2 separate regions of the Homo sapiens genome follow, and region 1 is linked to region 2. The links are contacts of gene promoters, found by promoter capture Hi-C in human tissues and cell types (Jung and others, 2019). All regions are on one chromosome and are shown on one strand. Each heading gives the region's core, a stretch centred on a gene start or on the middle of the fragment in contact. The rest is flanking DNA. Distances are from core to core; before and after follow the strand shown. Region 1 overlaps ZNF736 (zinc finger protein 736). Region 2 holds the start of ZNF138 (zinc finger protein 138).

Evidence for each region. Contacts are between HindIII fragments. The study calls those that stand out against the background at their distance.
Region 1: a fragment that was not itself captured here is called in contact with the fragment with the promoter of ZNF138 in region 2 in 1 of the 25 tissues and cell types used here (lymphoblastoid cells).

Annotation. Positions count from the first base shown.
Region 1 is chr7:64,329,866-64,337,423 of GRCh38, forward strand. It overlaps ZNF736 (zinc finger protein 736), which reads left to right. Exons shown (of 4, transcript NM_001170905.3): 2 at 6,394-6,520; 3 at 7,022-7,117. Among named protein-coding and RNA genes, the nearest start is that of ZNF736, 20 kb to the left of the region's middle. The HindIII fragment of the contact is 5,723 bases long and covers 3,344-7,558 here.
Region 2 is chr7:64,791,912-64,798,901 of GRCh38, forward strand. ZNF138 (zinc finger protein 138) reads left to right here and starts at 2,517. Exons shown (of 4, transcript NM_001271639.2): 1 at 2,517-2,660. The coding sequence starts at 2,658. RefSeq lists enhancers at 2,243-2,292, 2,533-2,772, 2,557-3,117. The HindIII fragment of the contact is 15,546 bases long and covers 1-6,990 here.

The DNA.
Region 1 (7,558 bases), core at 4,955-7,454, 460 kb before region 2:
GTAGCAAAATGCCTTTGGTAGCAAGAACATGGAGTCAGAAACCTTAGGAATCTACTTGGTGCTCTATTCTGTTGTGGCTTAGCTGGCACCGAGGCCATGAGACAACATCCTTCCTACTCTTTTTTCTCTTTTATCAAGCATAAGAAACCACTCCCCATGGCCACCACCACCCAGAGTCCACAACAAGTACTGCTAGGCTACTGCTGATATCCACTGAAGACCTAAGTGGTCTTCGGTCAGCTTGTGGTGAACTCTGCCAGGCCTGCTTCTTTTGCTTCAGGGAAGTGGGGTTTTTTTTGTTTTGTTTTTGAGACGGAGTCTCGCTCTGTAGCCCAGGCTGGAGTGCAGTGGAGTGATCTTGGCTCACTGCAAGCTCCGCCTCCCGGGTTCCCGCCATTCTCCTGCCTCAGCCTCCCAAGTAGCTGAGACTACAGGTGCCCACCACCGCGCCGGCTAATTTTTTTGTATTTTTTAGTAGAGACGGGGTTTCACTGTGTTAGCCAGGATGGTCTCCATCTCCTGACCTCGTGATCCGACCGCCTTGGCCTCCCAAAGTGCTGGGATTACAGGCCTGAGCCACCGTGCCCGGCTGGGAAGTGGGTTTTTTTTCTGACCTAGGGTGGTTCCAGAAATGTCATCCAGGAGCCAAGGCCTGAAATCAGAGACCTCAGGAGCTACCTTGTTACGGCTACCCCACTATGGCTGAGCTGCTAATCAAGCTTCGAGACAAAGTCCCTTCTTCCCTCTCTTTTCCTCAAGCAGGAGTCTCTCCACATGGCTGCAGCAGCTTGGATTGCACTGTACTGGGTCTCACCCGCCGAAGGGCTGCAGCAAGTTACTGCTTACTGGTTACTGCTGATGTTTATTCAAGGCCCAAGGGCTCTTTACTCAGCAGGTGATGAATGCTGCCAGAACTGGTACCTTCCCTTCAAGGCAGTGTGTTCTCTTCTGGCCCAGGGTATGTCTAGAACTGTCACTCAGGAACTAAGTCCTAGAATAGGAGCCTCAGGGCTTTTTCTGATGCCATATTCTACTGTGGCTGAGATGATGTCCCAATTGCAGGACAAAGTTTTTATTAACTCTTCTCTCCCCTTTCCTCAAGTAGAAAGAAAGATTTTCTCCTGGAGCTGTGAACTGCACTGCCTGTGCCTAGGGTAAGGGTAATAATGCAGGCACTTTCTTGGCCATCCCAGTAGGCATCTCACAAGGTCACATGCACTTCAAGTTTTCTGGCTCTGAGCCTAGCAAAGCACCAGGATTTGCCCAGGAGTTGCAGTCCCAGTGGCTTAGACTGCCTTTCAAGTTTATTTAGAACCCCAGAGTGCTTTAGCCTATGGTGGTGGGGCTACCTGAAACTCAGGTTTTGATTACTGAAATGGACAATTCCTCTCTGACTAGGGCTAGTCTGAGTGCTCCCTCTGTAGGCTCTGGCTGAATTCTGCCCCATGCTGCTTTCTGCTATGACAGGCAGCACTGAGTTTTACTGCACAGTCTCACAATCACCGCACTCTCCCTTCTGTAAGCACATGGATTTTCTCTCTCTGCTGAGCTGCACTCCCAGGGAATGGAGGAGGGCTGCTGTTGGCAATTAACAGCTTTCTTTTTTACCCTCTTCACTGCCTCTTTGATTTGATGCTAAAACTAGGTCCTGTGATCACTCCCCAGAGTTTTTTGCTCTTATGAAGATGCTTCTTATTTGGATAGTCATTCTATTTGGTGTTTTATCTGGGGGATGATTGCTGGAGGGTGCTATTTAGTCATCTTGCTCCACTTCCCTTGCAGCCATGTTGTTTGAATTAAGTGCCACATATGAGGCTAAGGTGAGCCCGGGGTCAATCACGAGCGCTTTCAGATACATTCACGAGAGGTGAGTTTAGCTTTAGTTCCAAATGAAGATCATAGAGACTGCTCTGCTTGGATTTGGTAGAGGCAGGTCAGTGTGGCCCATATTCCCATTGCTGCAGTAGAAATTTCTGGCATCTGTGGCAGAGAAAGGCAACTGAGTGATGGAAAGGGGAAACTCACATTTTGGTTTTTATGTAGGATTTTACTGGTTCTGAACCTCTCTTGTGATAAAGAACAAAGGCAGTCTTTATCTGCAATTCTAGGTCCTTCTGCCTGTGGGTGTGGTGGTTTCAGGGGAGGGAGTTTTGCTCATGCTTCAAAGGCATATTCTCAAGAAACAGGTGTAATTTGTGCAGATAATCACACCTGGGAAGGGATCACAGAGAAGGAGAAAAAGAAAGAAATGGCTTATTCTGAGGTGAATGTGTCTCAGGTCAGAGACTGTCCAACTTTTTCTTCTGAAATATCATGTGTGTAGAACTTGCAAATGTTTACTTCTCTACTGTCGGGGAACCTGCCCCCAGTCTTTCTATTTTCCATAAGTGTCGGCCGGCTGAGAAATAAAGAGAAAGGGTACAAAAAGAGGAATTTTACTAGGCCACCAGGGGTGACATCACATATTGGTAGGACTGTGATACCCACCTGAGTCTCAGACTAGCAAGTTTTTATTAAGGGTTTCAAAAGGGGAGGGGGTGTAAAACAGGGAGTAGGTACAAAGATCACATGCTTCAAAGGGCAAAAAGCAGAACGAAGATCACATGCTTCTGAGGGAACAGGACAAAAGGCAAAACAGAACTGATAAGGGTCTGGGTTCAGCTGTGCACGTATTGTCTTGATAAACATCTTAAACAACAGAAAACAGGTTTCAAGAGCAGAGAACCCATCTGACCACAAATTTACCCGGGCAGAGTTTTTCCCCACCCTAGTAAGCCTGAGGGTACTGCAGGAGACCAGGGTGTATCTCAGTCCTTATCTCAACCACACAAGACAGACACTCCCAGAGCTGCCGTTTATAGACCTCCCCCCAGGAGTGCATTCCTTTCCCAGGGTATTAATATTAATATTCCTTGCTAGGAAAAGAATTTAGCAATATCTCTCCTACTTGCATGCCTGTTTATAGGCTCTCTGCAAGAAGAAAAATATGGCTCTTTTTGCCCGACCCCGCAGGTACTCAGACCTTATGGTTGTCTTCCCTTGTTCCCTAAAAATCACTGTTATTCTGTTCTTCTTCAAGGTGCAATGATTTCATATTGTTTAAACACATGTTTTACAATCAGTTTGTACAGTTAACACAATTATTACAGTGGTCCTGAGGTGACATACATCCTCAGCTTACGAAGATAACAGATTAAGAGATTAAAGTAAAGACAGGCATAAGAAATTACAAAAGTATTATTTGGGAACTGATAAATGTCCAAGAAGTTTTCACAATTCATGTTCCTCTGCCGTGGCTCCAGCTGCTCCCTCCATTCAGGGTCCCTGACTTCCCGCAACACGCTACTTGTGATGTTTTGCCTTATCAGTTTAACTCCTTTTTCACTTTTTATTCTCATGATAGTCAAGGGGCTCTGAGAAATACTTTTTCCTTATATACCAGAGCCTTCTCCTTATTCCCTACGTCCCAGCTTTTAATAAGCCGTGAAAAAATTGTCACCATGAATTTATACCTGCAACATTACAAATGTTTCTTCTGTGGCTGTCGAACATGGAAGGGTGTGGAGACCCAAGATTCCTGTTTGAGATGGGATCAGGTCTTTGGTTATCAGTGAAGAAGGAGACCATGTACTGTTTAGCTTCCATTAAATCTATGCAAAACTGCTTATAAAAATGCACATTTAATGAGAATGGTCTTTATTGCCCAGGATAACTCAGAAAGTTCTGAATAAAAAATAGAAGAGACTTCCTCTCTAGGATGCTAAAGCAAGGAAGTAAAAGAGGACACAAATGGAAAAAAAAAATCCGTGCTCATGGATAGGAAGAATCAATATCATGAAAATGGCAATACTACCCAAAGTAATTTATAGATTCGATGCTATTCCCATCAGGCTACCATTGATTTTCTTCGCAGAATTAGAAAAAATACTTTAAATTTTATATGGAACCAAAAAAGAGCCCATATAGTCAACACAGTCCTAAGCAAAAAGAGCAAAGCTGGAGGCATCACGCTACCTGACTTGAAACTATACTACAAGGCTACAGTAACCAAAACAGCATGGTACTGGTACCAAAACCGGTATATAGACCAATGTAACAGAACAGAGGCCTCAGAAATAACACCACACATATACAACCATCTTATCTTTGACAAACCTGACAAAAATAAGCAATGGGGAATGGATTCCCTATTTAATAAATGGTGCTTGGAAAACTGGCTGGCCATATGCAGAAAACAGAAACTGGACCACCCTCCCTTACACCTTATACAAAAATTAACTCAAGATGGATTAAAGACTTAAATGTAAAACCTAAAACCATGAAAACTCTAGAAGAAAACCTAGGTAATACCATTTAGGACATAGGCATGGGCAAAGACTTCATGACTAAAACACCAAAGGCAATGGCAACAAAAGCCAAAATTGACAAATGGGATCTAATTAAACTAAAGAGCTTCTGCATAGCAAAAGAAACTGTCATCAGTGAACAGGCAGCCTACAGAATGGGAGAAAATTTTTGCAATATATGCATCCGACAAAGGGCAAATACCCAGAATCTACAAGGAACTTAAATAAATTTACAAGAAAAAAGCAATCCCATCAAAAAGTGGGTGAAGGATGTAAACAGACACTTCTCAAAAGAAGATATTTATGCAGCCAACAAACATAAAAAAAAGTTCATCATCACTGGTCATTAGAGGAATGCAAATCAAAACCACAATGAGATACTATCTCACACCAGTTAGAATGGCGAGCATTAAAAAGTCAGGAAACAGATACTGGCAAGGATGTGGAGAAATAGGAATGCTTTTACACTGTTGGTGGGAGTGTAAATTAGTTCAACCATTGTGGAAGACAGTGTGGTGATTCCTCAAGGATCTAGAACCAGAAATACCATTTGACCCAGCAATCTCATTACTAGGTATATGCCCAAAGGATTTTAAATCATTCTACTATAAAGACACATGCACACATATGTTTATTGCAGCACTATTTACAATAGCAAAGACTTGCAGCCAACCCAAATGCCCATCAATGATAGACTGGATAAAGAAAATGTGGCACATATACACCATGGAATACTATGCAGCCATAAAAAAGAATGAGTTCACGTCCTTTGCTGGGACATGGATGAAGCTGGAACCATCATTCTCAGCAAACTAACAAACTAACACAGGAACAGAAAACCAAACACCGCATGTTCTCACTCATAAGTAGGATTCAAACAATGAGAACACATGGACACAGGGAGGGAAACATCACACACCAGGGCCTGTCAGCAGATGGGGGCAAGGGGAAGGAGAGCAATAGGACAAATACCTAATGCATGTGGGGCTTAAAACCTAGATGACGGGTTGATAGGTGCAGCAATCCACCATGACACATGTATACCTATGTAACAAACCTGCACATGTATCCCAGAACTTAAAGTTTAAAAAAAAAAAAGTTTAGCCAAAAATTAGAGATTACAGAACATGGGAGATATTTGTAGCTTACATTTTGCCTAAAACTGATGTTTCTTCATGACTAGACTCAGATTGTTGACCCTTTTTTGTGTTAATGTTAATAATAGCACAGTAGTCTTGTATCCTTCTTTGTTAATCAGCACCTGATACAAATTTCTTTTAATATAGTTGATCTTAATTTATTTACTTGGTAAATACGCTTTCTGACAGATATTTTTCACTCTACAGTTCATTATTTTTCTCTATTAATAGATACCTTGGGGAGTTTATCAAGTGATGTGCAAAAACAAGATTTAGCCATGTTTAATCTGACAGCTCTTCTTTCTTCCTACCTTCTCTTTGCATATCGCTTGCTATGGAAAATGAAGGCTCTCGTCTTTCTTTACTGGTCAAATAAACTAAAAACCTAGGCTGTGCCACTTACTGAATTTTTGACAAAATATTCTCCTTGGGCCAGAAGCAACGATACCACTGGCAAACTTCTTACAAATTTGGAAACTCAAGCTTTACGCTAGATCTTCAGAGTCAAAATCTAGGTTTTAACAAGATCTCCTGTTCATTGCTATACACAATAAGATTTGAGAAGTATGCTTTTAACTCACCATGAAGTTTCCATATGGGAACTATAGACAGCTTTTCTTGTATTATGTAAATGTAGCATTAAGAAATGTACATGCCTGTGTTAATGTCCTTTATTTTATACTGTATCATCAAGAAAAGTATTGCACATACACTGGTTTCATGATCTTATGCCATCTTTTCTCAGAGTTAAAAATACACTAGAGAATATTTCTGTGCTAGAAAGTATCCTACTGGATAACTCCAGTAACTCATATAAGTCAGAACCAGCTATCTTTATTCTCATTTTACCTGATGTCAAATCAAGAATTCTTTCTATGGTCACTTGGTAAATATGTTTTGTTTTCCAGGGAGTGTTGACATTCAGGGATGTGGCTGTAGAATTCTCCCCAGAAGAGTGGGAATGCCTGGACTCTGCTCAGCAGCGTTTGTATAGGGATGTGATGTTAGAGAACTATGGAAACCTGGTCTCCTTGGGTGAGAATAACTTCAATATACAACTCATATTCTACATTAAATATTTTATTTTCTTCTGATTTTTTTGGAGGTTCTGCTTTGCATAAATGAGTTTCAGAATCCTGCTTCAAAAAGAAAAAATTGGGTATCTGTTGAGGTAGAAAATATAATCTTCAAGATGTTTCATCTTAACATTAATCTTTCCCTTTTTTGAGCTCATCTGTATACTTCAGTCTAAATTAGTGGTAATATCAGAAATTTAGTAGCATAAAATATTGTTACCCACACCTAAAAATGCAATTTTCACAGCTGATTTTTGATTCAGTATTACTGGGTAATAGAGCTAAGAACCACAAATTTAAAATACTTTCTAAATATTCTAAAGTTTCTGTTAGGAAACAGTATATTAAAATTAATTTTCTAGAGTCTTCTATAATGTTCTCTCTTCTCTACTGAGCATAGTACTAGATTAGTAATCAGATTATCCTAGCAAGAGTCATGTTTTTTTTTCTAATAAAACAGGTCTTGCTATCTTTAAGCCAGACTTGATGACCTGTCTGGAGCAAAGAAAAGAGCCTTGGAAAGTGAAGAGACAGGAGGCAGTAGCCAAACACCCAGGTAGGTGGGAGTGAATGAAGCAGATGACACAAATGACGGATCCCAATGTCAAGGAGGAAGCCAAACCTTTAAACATGCTTCCAGAAGCTCTGCTCCAGTGGAAATGGTTTCTGAGAAACCTTCATTTCTTTCTCTTGCTTTAACATAGGGACATTTTTTGTCCCATTCTTGTGAATTTTCCAAGCACTGTACTTCCCCTTCAGTAATGTGTGTGTGTGTGTTGTGTGTGTGTTTTGTTTTGTTTTTTGTTTTTAGTTTACAGCAATAATGAAAGTCTTTCATGGCTTGACAGAAAATGTGTGATTTGACTGCTTTTCCATTGCTTTGGGGAAACAGCAATATCTGTATTTTTGAGAAACTATATTAAACCATTTTTTTAAGTTCTGTTTTTGGATAATGTCTAAATATTTAAGTTTTGGTGATATTACAGTTTGGATCAGA
Region 2 (6,990 bases), core at 1,267-3,766:
TTTGTTTTTCTTTTTTTTTTTTTTTTGGTACATACTAAACTGAAACCTAACTGGATATGTAAGTAGATTATAACCCATTCCTGTACCAGCCACTGTGATTTTGCCAATAAAAGGACATCAACTCTTCAAACCATGTTCAAATAAGGCAAATCCCAAGCTGTAATCAATTTGGCTGTTTCTGTACCTCAATTTCATTTTCTGTATGCCACTTTGCTTTTTCTGTTGATCAATTTTTTTACCATGTTGCTGTGCTGGAGTCTCTCTGAGCCTATTCTGGGCCCACAGGCTGCCTGATTTGCAAATCATTCTTTGTTCATTTAGACTCTGTTACATTCAATTTCTCTGAAGGTTTTGTTTTTTTTTTTAGATGTTTACAGATTTTATCTATGATAAAAAATAAGTAATGTGTTGCTGGGCTTTGATTTTCTCAACTCATCCCTCATCTATCTTTTTCCACATATGCTATGTCCTTTTGAAATGCTCCTGCAACTTTTTTCTTTTCTGTTTCTTTTCTTTTCTTTTTTTTTTTTTGGAGAAAGGATCACACTCTCACCACCCAGGCTGAAGTGCAGTGTCGTAACCAATCATGGCTCACTGCAGCCTCGACCTTCCAGGCTCAAGTAATCCTCTTGCCTCTGCCACCTGAGTAGCTGGGACTACAGGATTGCCTCATGCTGGCTAATTTTTATTTTTATTTATTTTTATTTTTTATTTTTTTTGAGACGGAGTCTCGCTCTGTCACCCAGGCTGGAGTGCAGTGGTGGGATCTTGGCTCACTGCAAGCCCCATCTCGTGGGTTCATGCCATTCTCCTGCCTCAGCCTCCCGAGCAGCTGGGACTGTATTTTTAGTAGAGACGGGGTTTCACCGTGTTAGCCAGGATGGTCTCGATCTCCTGACCTCGTGATCTGCCCTCCTCGGCCTCCCAAAGTGCTGGGATTACAGGCATGAGCCACCGCGCCCGGCCATGACTGGCTAATTAAAAAAAAAAAAATTTTCATGCACATAGGATCTTAACTATGTTATTCAGGCTGCACTTGAACTCCTGAGCGCAAGTGATTCTCCCATCTCAGCTTGCCAAAGTGCTAGGATTATAGATGTGAGCTACCGTGTGCTTCTTCAATTTCTTAAGATTATTTCTAGCAATAATAATAAACAGTGCTATATGGGCACAAATCTAAAAGAAATCTGGCTTCTATTTTAGAAGTGTCACTCTCCAGGATTTCAAGGGTCAAATGGAGTTAATTCTGAGTCCCAGCCCAGCCACTTAATAGCTGTGGGTCTTTGCACAAATTTTTTTTTTTTTGATGTGGAAGAGTTATATAAACCACATATGCAAAAAAAGGCAGAATGATACTGATTGCAAAAATGTTAGCAATTTTTCATCCCTCCGCTATCCATGCCCATTGCCAGGTGCATTTACAGCTGTTTCCATTGAGATCCAGTTCTGTTTTCCAAACCCTAGATCTGGCTGGCCTTATTTGCTCAGGGCAGTAAAAACCTGTGAACAGTGCAGTGTGCTAGTTTGAGGCGTAGGCTCAAATGGTTTTGCATGCTTCTGTTTTTCTTTCAGAAGGCTACTATCTCCGCGAAAAAAGCCCATGTTAGCCAGATGGAAGATAAAATAGTATGGGGAGGAGAAGCAAGTTGCCTCTGTTGACAGCCTCAGAAGCAGAAGCTCACCCCCAGAAGCACAGCTGCCTAGTCAACAAGCAGCTGATGATACATGTCTGAAGGAACTCAGCTGAGGTCACAAGAATGGTCTCACTGAGCCCAGCCTAAATGACTAACCATCTCAATTAGAGTGAATTCCACCTGTTTATTCTTAAAGTTTGACTACTAGAAAATTTGGAATTCACATGTGCTCTGTAATCCCAGCACTTTGGGAGGCCGAGGCAGGTGGATCACCTGAGGTCAGGAGTTCGAGATCAGCCTGACCAACATGGCAAAATTCTGTCTCTATTAAATATACAAAAAGTAGCCGGGCGTGGAGGCGGGTGCCTGTAATCCCAATTACTCAGGAGGCTAAGGCAGGAGAATCACTTGAGCCCGAGATGCGGAGTTTGGGGTGAGCCGAAATCGTGCCACTGTGCTTGAGCCTGGGTGAGAGTGAGACTCTGTCTCAAAAAAAAAAAAGAAAAAAATCTCAGGCTGCCTGCTCAAAGGACCAGAAGCCAGTACGGTTATAAAATCTGGAATTTAAAAATAATTGTTATATTCAGATGTGAATAGCTATATGTTATTTATAAATGCATACGACCTTATACACAAGGTTAAATGCAAATGCCCTCTGGGGTGGGCCTGACTCAGCTCAGGGAGGAAGCCCTTCTGGAAAAGGCTGCTGCTTAGGTTTAACTCTGTCTTCCTTCAGCCCAGCACCTGAGCACATCTGTCACTCAGGGCCTGAGGGGGCGGGTTGTTAAACGTTATCCAATCAGGGACGCCGGGCTGGGAACGGTCCAATCAGGCACCCAGCTGGAGCGGACATGACGTCTTCCGGGAGGCGGCGGGGTCTTTGTCTCGCTGCAGCGGGTGCTGCAGGTCTGGCCTTCACTTTTCTGCGTCCTCTTACTCCTAGAGGCCCAGCCTCTGTGGCGCTGTGATCTGGTTATTGGGAGATTCACAGCTAAGACGCCAGGATCCCCCGGAAGCCTAGAAATGGTGAGAGTGCTGGGTCCGACATCCCGAGAGAGGGGGAGGGAGCTGGTTGGAACCGGTCGGAAGTGGCTGTGGCAGTACTCGGGTCTTCCCGCAGTCGGCTGCAAAATCCGCGGCCCCGAGTTCTTGGCACAGCTCGGCCCTCAGTCCCCTTAAGCCATAGCATGGCAGCTGGGCTGACAGCCGGAACCAGGCGTCCTGTCTCCTCCCTGCGCAGTGACTGTGCCCTGGCCTGGAGCCCTCTCTGAGCAGCTCTGCACCCGCAGCGATTGTGCAGAGACGACGGGAGGGTCGTCAGGGGAGAATCCTGACTCGGGGTGCTGGGTTCATGAATGGGAAGAGGTTTCCTCCGCGGGCTTCCCTGTCCCTCTTTTCCCCTATTAAAATTTATGAAAGTCACCGCAAAAAAATTAATTTAATCAAACAGTGATTCAAGAATTGTGGAGCACCCAGCTGTGGTTTGCAGTAGTGGTCCGTGGGAGGGGTTTGAAGGAAACACTTGTATAAGGTGTATGATAAAACCAAATTCAGTAATTGGTTAGTAGAGTTATGTAGTTTCTTAATTTGTACAATGAAGGAGGAAATTTCCTGGTCATGTAATCAGAGGTTAATTGGCAGTTTACAGTTGGTTAAACATGAATTTTATTTTTCACAAGGTAGTAATTTACAAAAAAATGCATTTGAGTTAGATTTTTTTAAAACCAGAAACCCTGGGACTGGAGCGACCTCAGTCTAATTGCCTGCCACTTAATTATTTTCACACTCCACAGGGGACAGATCTTCCCCTTCATTTTTCACATGTGTCCCAAGCAGGGTCTCAAGACTCCTCCCCCTCCCCATTTCCCATTCCTTCAGCCTAACTCTGGCTTGCAGTAAAATACTAAATTTCCAGTTCCTTCTGACATTCCCAAATGCCAACTTCCCCTTCCTAATTCACATTATCAACTATTTGTCCTTTAGTGTACATTTGAAATACTGTATTTTAATTAATCATTTTTTGACAAAGCATGGATGGCATTTTAAAAAAGATTTGTTATCTGTTTGTAAATATTTCCCATGAGAAGAAACCAAAGACTCATCCCCTGATGCTGTATTGTAAAAAATCTCTGTGCCTTTTTTTTTTTTTTTAAATCTTCCCTAGGTACAGAGATCTTATCAGAATATTTTTGGGTCAAGGTTTCCCTTTGGAAACTTTATAAGGTAATGTGTCCTTAGTCACTCTTCAGTTTTTTCCTTGGTCCTGGGTTTCAGTACTTTCTGAGGATAAATCAAAATATCCACTGTGGCTGTGTATGCTAGAATCTCTGGTAAATTTCAGCTCCTGGCCTGGAATGAACTCTGGTTATCTGGGAATGGGAGACAGAGGACAACCTGAGGTTGGAGTGTAGCCTCTCAAGGGAGCAGGTGAATGCCCTGGGGCTGAGAGGAATCTCCTGGTGTACTCTTCCTTTGAAAAGCAAACCCTTTGAGAAGTTAAGATTGTCTTCAAACCAACCCAGTGTCCATTTCCGGAGACATATTGCTGGTCAATCAATCATATGCTGGTATTGAGGGGAGAACACAGAAATAATTTCGGCCCACTGGATTCTCTAAGATTTGTGAAAGAAATGATAGTATCCAAAAAGACAAATCAAACCTTACCCCAGTGAGATGGTTCAAGAACTTGCAAAGTGAAATGTACTTGGGGCAGTCACTGAGGCATAGTGCAGCGTCTTCAGAGAGGGTGGTCTTCAGAGAGGGTGGTCGTTTAGCACTTAAGTGAGCAGGATGGGGTGGGAGAATCTCTCAAGTGATTGGGTGGCTTGACTTGACATGTGAGTGAGATACATCTGTTTTTTAATCAGCACTGCCACTCCCTGGGATTGTCACCCTGAAAAGATTTGTTCACTTACTTCAGTGTTTTAATTGTAACTTGCAGTTTATTAGTAGGACTAAAAGGTAAGAGGATAATTAGAATGGGCATGAAAGAGATGGGTTTTGGAAAAAAATATCTAATCATATATTCTATTTGTTAAGTATTCTCATTTACCTTTTTCTTTCCCAGACTGAGTTTAGGAATTTTCTCAGGTCTGTTTTTTTATGGCTGGGTGATGTCCAAGAGTATTCCAAGGCTTAGCTTTTAGAATGCTACCAAGGAAAAGAATAGGGAAAATACTTCTTCCATTTTGGCTGTGGAAAACGAATACATTTCCGGCGGGGTGCGGTGGCTCATGCCTGAAATCCCAGCACTGTGGGAGGCCAAGGCAGGGAGATCACCTGAGGTCAGGAGTTCTAGACCAGCCTGGCCAACATGGTGAAACCCCATCTCTACTAAAAATACAAAAATTAGAAATTAGCCATGAATGGTGATAGGCACCTGTAATCCCAGCTATTCGGGAGGCTGAGGTGGGAGAATCATTTGAACCCCATAGGCAGAGGTTGCAGTGAGCTGAGATCGTGCGGCTGCACTCCACCTTGGGCGACAGAGCGAGACTCCATCTCAAGAAAAAAGAAAGAAAGAAAATGAATACATTTCCACAAGAAGATGTGGTAGATAATTGGTGAGTTATACAGATTCATGAAAATATCAGTTCCTCCTTTTTCAGGGTACATTTCAGTGAATACCTCTCTTCTGTATCCAGTCATCTTGATTTCTGAGGTTAATGCTAAATTTTTTAAGATGAAACTTGGTCTATCCTAGAAGTGTTCCCATATGACTAATTGTTTACTACATCATTTTTAATGGATATAATAAAATAATTATTTATCGTTTTAAAAGATTACATACTTTTGCATTTGAGATATGTGACGTAAGTGCTTTAAAATTTCCTTCCCTTATATAAACACTGTGTTTGAGTAATTTTGCTGAATTTTTCAGTTTAAAAAACCATTTGAACAACTCCGACATGGAAATTAAAGCTTGCGCCAGTGACTGCAAGCTAAGGCTAATATTGAGCCTACAAAGGGAAGGGAGGTTATTAAAGGCCCAGTTAGTTCTTTCTAGGAAGCCTCCCCTGCGGATGTCGGAGCCTGCTCACCCCAGCCATGGAAGAACCTTTATACTGAGAGAAGCTACAGAGCCCTGGAAAACTGGAGACCCACAGGCAGATGCAGTAAACATTAAGATGGAAGGGGATTGGGAGGGTCATACTCAGGATGAAGTTGTTATTGTTTTGAGGCAGTTTCTAGACTTTGTAAAATAAAACAAAATTAGGTTTATTTTTTAAAAAATTCTAAAATACTGCAACAGAAGGAAGTACCAACTATATAATCTTTAAGGATTGCAAAGTTTAGGCAGATAAAGGCTTTCTTAGGGAGGAGCAAAAAAGATTAGAAGGTGAGAGGGGAATGGCAAATGGAGGGTGTATAAATCAGATTTTATTTTTTATTTTTTAATTAAATTATTTTTTTGAGACAGAGTCTTACTTTGTTGCCCAGGCTGGAGTGCAGTGGCTGGATATCACCTCACTGCAACCTCTGCCTCCTGGGTTCAAGTGACTGTCATGCCACAGCCTCCTGAGAAGCTGGGATTACAGCCGCCCACCACCATGCCGGGCTAATTTTTGTATTTTTACTAGAAATGGGGTTTTGCCATATTGGCCAGGGTGGTCTCAAACTCCTGACCTCAGGTGATCTGCTCTTCTCAGCCTCTCAAAGTGCTGGGATTACAGGCGTGAGCCACCACGCTCAGCCCAAATCAGATTTTAGATTAGAAAATGTTTTACCCTGAAGTCAGCAAGTTTTTAGGAGAAACATAAAATGGGGTTGTATGTTGGCTCAGACTGAGTAGCTCAAAGTTCAGGAGCTGTGGGAAGGAGATAAACTTAACTATATTTTGATTAAGAAGTATTTTATTTGACCGCTGAAGAAAAATTCGGCTATTTTTTTAAATACAAAAAAGAAAATCTTATACATAGTGCTAGCTAGTTATTCCAGTACCATTTTATTAAATAGGGAATTCTGGCCGGGCATGGTGGCTTACGCCTGTAATCCCAGCTCTTTGGGAGGCCAAGGCGGGTGGATCACCTGAGGTCGGGAGTTTGAGACCAGCCTGACCAACATGGAGAAACCCTACAAAAAAAATAGTCGGACATGGTGGCCCATGCCTGTAATCCCAGCTACTCAGGAGGCTGAGACAGGAGAAACGCTTGAACCTGGAGGCGGAGGTTGTGGTGAGCCGAGATTGAGCCATTGCACTCCAGCCTGGGCAACAAGAGTGAAACTCCGACTCAAAAAAAAAAAAAAAAGGAAATTCTTCCTACATTGATCTTGTCAGCTTTTTTGATGATCAGATGGTCAGATGGTTGTAGATGTGTGGCATTATTTCTTGGCTCTATTCTGTTGCATTGTTCTA